Regions from separate parts of the Homo sapiens genome. Here region 2 is linked to region 1. The links are contacts of gene promoters, found by promoter capture Hi-C in human tissues and cell types (Jung and others, 2019). All regions are on one chromosome and are shown on one strand. The core of a region is centred on a gene start or on the middle of the fragment in contact, and the rest is flanking DNA. Distances in the headings are between cores, read along the strand shown.

What was found. The method cuts DNA at HindIII sites, captures the fragments that hold promoters and counts their contacts. A contact is called where the count stands out against the background at its distance.
Region 2: a fragment that was not itself captured here is called in contact with the fragment with the promoter of FBP2 in region 1 in 1 of the 25 tissues and cell types used here (dorsolateral prefrontal cortex).

The regions. Positions count from the first base shown.
Region 1 is chr9:94,592,402-94,595,460 of GRCh38, reverse strand. FBP2 (fructose-bisphosphatase 2) reads left to right here and starts at 1,637. Exons shown (of 7, transcript NM_003837.4): 1 at 1,637-1,904. The coding sequence starts at 1,735. The HindIII fragment of the contact is 6,105 bases long and covers 1-2,152 here.
Region 2 is chr9:96,258,727-96,261,785 of GRCh38, reverse strand. The region is part of intron 2 of HSD17B3 (hydroxysteroid 17-beta dehydrogenase 3); the gene reads left to right. The region is part of intron 17 of SLC35D2-HSD17B3 (SLC35D2-HSD17B3 readthrough); the gene reads left to right. Among named protein-coding and RNA genes, the nearest start is that of HSD17B3-AS1, 14 kb to the right of the region's middle. The HindIII fragment of the contact is 4,862 bases long and covers 1-3,059 here.

The sequences.
Region 1 (3,059 bases), core at 388-2,887:
GCATCTTCAACGTGGGCCAGATGTTCAGAACTGCAGTGACATTTTGTGCCCCCAGGATGCCAAGCAAGGGGCACAATCCAGCCGACCAAGGATGACAGAGACGAGACAGAGAGGGGTCCCAGTGGAACCAAGAACAGCTGAATGAACACCAGCCACCACCTCCTAGTGCACTCCTGGTCTATGAGGAAATAAACCCCCACGTGTAAATTGCTCTAGTTGTTCTATTTCTTGCAGCTGAACACATTCTAATCGACATAACTGTCAGGGGAAAAGACCTTCAGAGAAATGTGCATGTTGTACTGTTTTGTGAAATGAGATTATGTATGATTGCACAATAGTTGTGAGCACATTGAAAGACTGGAAGGGCGGCTGGGCGTGATGGCTCACGCCTGTAATCCCAGCACTTTGGGAGGCCGAGGCGGGCGGATCACGAGGTCAGGAAATCGAGACCATCCTGGCTAACACGGTGAAACCCCGTCTCTACTAAAAATACAAAAAATTAGCCAAGCGTCGTGGCAGGCGCCTGTAGTCCCAGCTACTCGGGAGGCTGAGGCAGGAGAATAGCGTGAACCTGGAAGGCGGAGCTTGCAGTGAGCCGAGATCACGCCACTGCACTCCAGCCTGGGCGACAGAGTGAGACTCCATCTCAAAAAAAAAAAAAAAAAAAAAAAAAAAAACTGGAAGGGCAATAATAGGTAACAAAGTACTGAGCACCTACTATACTAGGTACATCTCATTGCAGCCACTCTATAAGATGGATGCTTCACGGTTATGCTCATTTAAGAGTGAGACAACTGAGGTTCCAAGGGGTTTAATAACTTTCTCAAATCATGCAACCAACAGATAGCTAGCTTGGGACTCACAGCCAGGTCTGGCTGGCCCTAGAGAAAGTGCTTCCACCACCATATGCACCCCACCAGTGCCTACTGGCTGCACAGACCGCCACCAGCCCTAGCAGCAGTGATTTCTGGAGAGTGGGATGGGAGAATGGGCTGGTGGTGAGGAGGTTTGTCTTTATCCACTTCTTTAGTGTTTCCTTTTTAACAAGCAATTTTTGTTACAAAAGTGGACATCCAGAGATATTGACAAAATAACACTGGTGCCAGGAACTGTGCTAGGAATATAATAGTTTTCTTCCGGATCTGGATCTCTACTGTGGATATCCACTGGTCATACATGCCTACTGGAAATAAAAAGCATTCTTTCCTAACTTATTCCAAACCCTGGCTAAAGGAATTCTGGGGTTGCCATTATGTTACTATGTGACCTACGTCCCAGATAAGGAACCTGCGAATCTGCCACCTCCGCCCTCGGGAGAGCCAGGCCCTGCAGTCACTATATGTGAAGAATCCTTTGGAGCCTGGAATAAGAGGGTTTTATGCATCATTTTTTAATCAACTGGATTTCTCACCTCCCACCTGTGCCTAAATGGTGGCTTCTTGGTATCTTGAAAGGGGGTGCTCAGCAGGAGAAAGCAGCTCCATGTTTCTGGGCAGCCCGTCCTATTTACAGACTGCTGCGGCTCCCTGGCAGCTGCCACAGTCCCCGAGGCCAGAGGGAGTTCCTTGAGGGCCCCAGCAGTTGTTTGAGTCATGTGTTTTGGGCCCTTTTCCTTAGAGATCCTGGCAGGGCCAGCACAGATTTCTTATCGGCTTCCACACTGCGGAGCTGCAGCCCTCAGAAGTAAGCAAGGTTTCCTGCCGGGAGAAAAGGATTTGAAGCATTCCAGCCAAAATGACGGACAGAAGCCCCTTCGAAACCGACATGCTCACCCTGACCCGCTACGTTATGGAAAAGGGGCGTCAGGCCAAAGGGACTGGGGAGCTCACCCAGCTGCTGAACTCAATGCTGACGGCCATCAAAGCCATCTCCTCGGCTGTGCGCAAGGCCGGTCTGGCCCACCTGTGAGTCCTGGGGAGCAGGCATGGGGCACAGAGCACCCCAGGCCCAGGCAGGGGTGTGGGAGCTGCAGGTGCTTTGGCAAGAAACTGGGTCCAAAGCTTATTGGCCCTGTGTGCCCTAGATGGAAGCTGCATTTCAAGTTCCTATCATGTGTGCTTTGATAAAGGGGCCTTTGACTTGTTTTGAGAAAGGAACGAAAACATGCTATGAAGAAATACACATATAATTTTTCCAGTTATTATAATGATACCAAGTGCAGTGGCTTGTTGCATTAAAATATGTATTGTGTTATCATGACTTGTACTTGCACAGAGAGAGTCTCACTGGAACAAAGAAGTAGAGGGGTGACGTGAAATATCTCTTTATGCCTCTTGCAGACATGAGTGTTTTATTGTAATAAGCTTTGCAAATATGTTAGGAGCTGGAAATTATGTACGACATAGGAAGCTTGGTAGAGCCCCTTCCTGCATCTGCTCTCTCATCATCTAAAGGAGTGTTTTGCTGGCTACGTGTTTTATTTCTTCTCTGTGACTCTTTCTTTATCTTCACCTCCACTTGGTGTGCAGGAAGCCGGGAGGTGCTAGTCCTGGGAGGGGAGCGCAGAGGTTTCTTCCACAGGGTTCTCTTTGGTGCTTTATCCGAGCATAGATGAGGCCAGGTTCACATTACACTGCTGATGGTCACAGCCCAGTGTCCAGTTTAAGTCTGTAATAAAAAGAATCCGGTGGCCAGGCACGGTGGCTCCTGTCTGTAATCCTGGCACTTTGGGAGGCCAAGGTGGGTGGATCATGAGGTCAAGAGATCAAGACCATCCTGGCCAACATGTTGAAACCCTGTCTCTACTAAAAATACAAAAATTAGTTGGGTGTGGTGGCGGGCGCCTGTAGTCCCGGCTACTCGGGAGGCTGAGGCAGGAGAATCGCTTGAACCTGGGAGATGGAGGTTGCGGTGAGTCGAGATCGTACCACTGCACTCCAGCCTGGGTGACAGGACGAGATTCCATCTCAAAACATACAAACAAACAAACAAAACCCCAGCTTTCTTTGGGCTTCCCTTGTAGTAATTCCAGGGGAGGTCCTCTCAGGAGCTGAAGGAACACATATTTTGGGGATGAAAGAGACTCAAAATGAGGAGCTAACAAAGTCCAATCATTTAAA
Region 2 (3,059 bases), core at 342-2,841, 1.7 Mb before region 1:
TGCCCAAGTCTGAGGAGTAGGGAGATGGGAGAGCACAGGAGGGAGGACAAAGAAGAGGCATTGGGCAGGTCTGCGTGTCTCCCTCTCTGGGTCTGGTGACTGATACCGACTGTTTCCCTGTGGGGCCCTTTTATGGGTTCTCCCCGTGGAGGTGCCGCTCACTGCTCTACAGGACCTTGGCCCTGGCGAATGCACCCCACCCTGCATCAGCCTCCTCAGGCCCTGCCACCCAGCACTCTGCCTCCAACTTTGCTTCCCCCAAGGTCTCTGTGCTTTGAGATAGAAGTTTTGGGCCAAGTGCAGTGGCTCATGCCTGTAATCCCAGCACTTTGGGAGGCCAAGGCGGGCGGATCACCTGAGGTCAGCAGTTAGAGACCAGCCTGGAAACACGGCGAAACCCCGTCTCCACTAAAAATACAAAAATTAGCCGGGCATGGTGGCACATGCCCATGGTCCCAGCTACTCAGGAGGCTGAGGCAGGAGAATCCCTTGAACCTGGGAGGCTGAGGTTGCAGTGAGCCAACATCATGAATAAACACTTACATTTCTACTGCCTGAACCAAGTCTTGGCAGCAGAAGGCTCCATCGTCAAAGCAGCTGAGAAGCAACAATCTCCTGCTCATTAGATTTTTGGGGGGTCTGGGTCAAAGATCAGTCTACAGTTTGAGCATAATGAGTAAGAAGTAAACTTTTGTTGTGTTAAACTGCTGAGATTTCAGTGTTAACTTGTTGCCACAGCATTACCTATCCTATATGAACTAATTCAGGCAAAAAAGGAGAGGGGGAATAAAAAATAAGAGCGCACAGTGAACATAAAACCTGAAACAAGACGGGAAGGGACTACTGCGAGCCCTCTCCTTTACTGTGAGGTGAGAGGCGGGCAATGCTCCCTCCACACCCGACCTGAGGGGGATGGGAGTCACAGTTTGGCAGCAGAGAGAACCAAAGAAATCCTTTTCACACATTCCTCTTAGTTGCTACTCTCTTCACCTTTAAATTTATTGTTTATTTATTTATTTATTGAGATAGAGTCTCACTCTGTCGCCAGGCTGGAGTACAGTGGTGCGATCTCGGCTCACTACAACCTCCACTTCCTGGATTCAAGCGATTTTCTTGCCTCAGCCTCCTGAGTAGCTGAGACTTATAGGCATATGCCACCATGCCCAGCTAATTTTTGTATTTTTTTAAAGTAGAGATGGCGTTTCACCATGTTGACCAGGATGGCCCTTCATTAGCTTTACCAAGGTGATTGAGTTTTGGGAACGGGTTATTATAATTTAAATTATAAACTAAGTCTCTCCCAAAGTTAGGTTGGCCCAAACCCAAGAATAATTAAGGACAATTTGAAAGCTTAAGGGCAAGACAAGGGGCTGGTTAGATCAGATCTCTTTCACTGCCATAATTTTCTCACTGTTACAATTTTTGCAAAGGTGATTTCAGATGTGGGACTTTCAGTTTTAAAACTGGGAAGCTCCTGGGACAAGTTGATCCCGTACATGTTTTATAAATTATCTAGACAGATTAGCATGACTTGGATACCAAAATGGGACAAGGATAGCATCAGAGAAGTATGATCCAATTTAAATATTTGCAAACTGAATCCAGCAGTTTATTAAAAAAGCAATTCAGAAAAAAGGAACAGATGTAAATGTTCTTAAATTGATAAAGAATATCTACCAGAAGTGACAGGAAAGCTCATGCTTGCATCCTGAGAAACACTGTAAGTGTTCTCAGGACAGTAGGGAGCAAGGCAAGTATGTTTGCTGTTACTGCAACTGCTTAACATTGTATAGGAGGTGTCTGCCAAGATCATGAGGACAAAAATATGCAAATATTAGAAAGAAAGGGACAAGACTGTACTCTTTGTAGAGAATACTATTGTCTATGGTGAAAACCAAATACTGATGAACAGACTATCAGAACAAATAAAAAATTCTGCGAGGTGGCTGCGTAAAGAGCTCTCATTCACAATTAATAACAAATTGAATATATAGAAAAATAAGTAACACAATTGAGGGCTTCTTATGTGACAGATTCTCCGCTACACACTTTTTTTTTTTCTTTTGAGACGGAGTCTTGTTCTGTCGCCCAGGCTGGAGTGCAATGGCGTGATCTCGGCTCACTGCAAGCTCAGCCTCCTGGGTTCAAGTAATTCTCCTGCCTCAGCCCCCTGAGTAGCTGGGGCTACAGGCATGCGCCACCATGCCCAGCTAATTTTTATATTTTTAGTAGAGACAGGCTTTCACCATGTTGGTCAGGCTGGTCTCGAACTCCTGACCTCATGATCCGCCCACCTCGGCCTCCCAAAGTGCTGGGATTATAGGCATGAGCCAATGTGCCCGGCCACGCCACACACTTTTGAATGTATTCCCTTCTATGATCCCCACAACAACTGACTTGCGCTGATGGAAATAAGTGGTAGAGACAGGAATTGAACCTACCTATTGAATCCTGAAGTGTCTTCTATCCAAAATAATTCAGGTCATCATGGCAGTGAATAAACATAAGATCCTGGTGGCAGGAACAACTCATTGTCCACCCAGATGCCTACTCTCTCTTCCGTAGGGTGGAGTTGCAGCTGGTAAATGGCTCCCAGCAGGGAGCTTGCCAGGCTCCTTGACACCTGTGTGAAGCCATGCGACTCATTCTGCAAATGAAAGCAAGCAGAAAGGATGCGGGTCACTTCTTGATCAAGGTGGTTAACAGAGGGGCATATCTTCTCCAGAGTCTCTCAATCCTGGCACTAGCTGGATGGCAAAGCCCAGGGCAATCTTAGAGACCTGGCGGTAAAGATGACAAACCCTCTCTCAGCTTTGGGTCCTGAATGGGTTCCCAAATGTGAAATAGGGTCTGCTACATAAGACAGAAACAGACTTCTTTTGTGTTAAACTGCTGAAATTGCAGAGTTATTTGTTACAGCAACTAATGTTACCCTAATTAACACAAACCTAACAAGAAATGTCCAGGATTTACATGAAAAAACTTCTAAATGTTTAGAAGACTATATGAGATTTGAAAAAAAATGGATACTATAATATACTTACGGGTAAGACAACTGA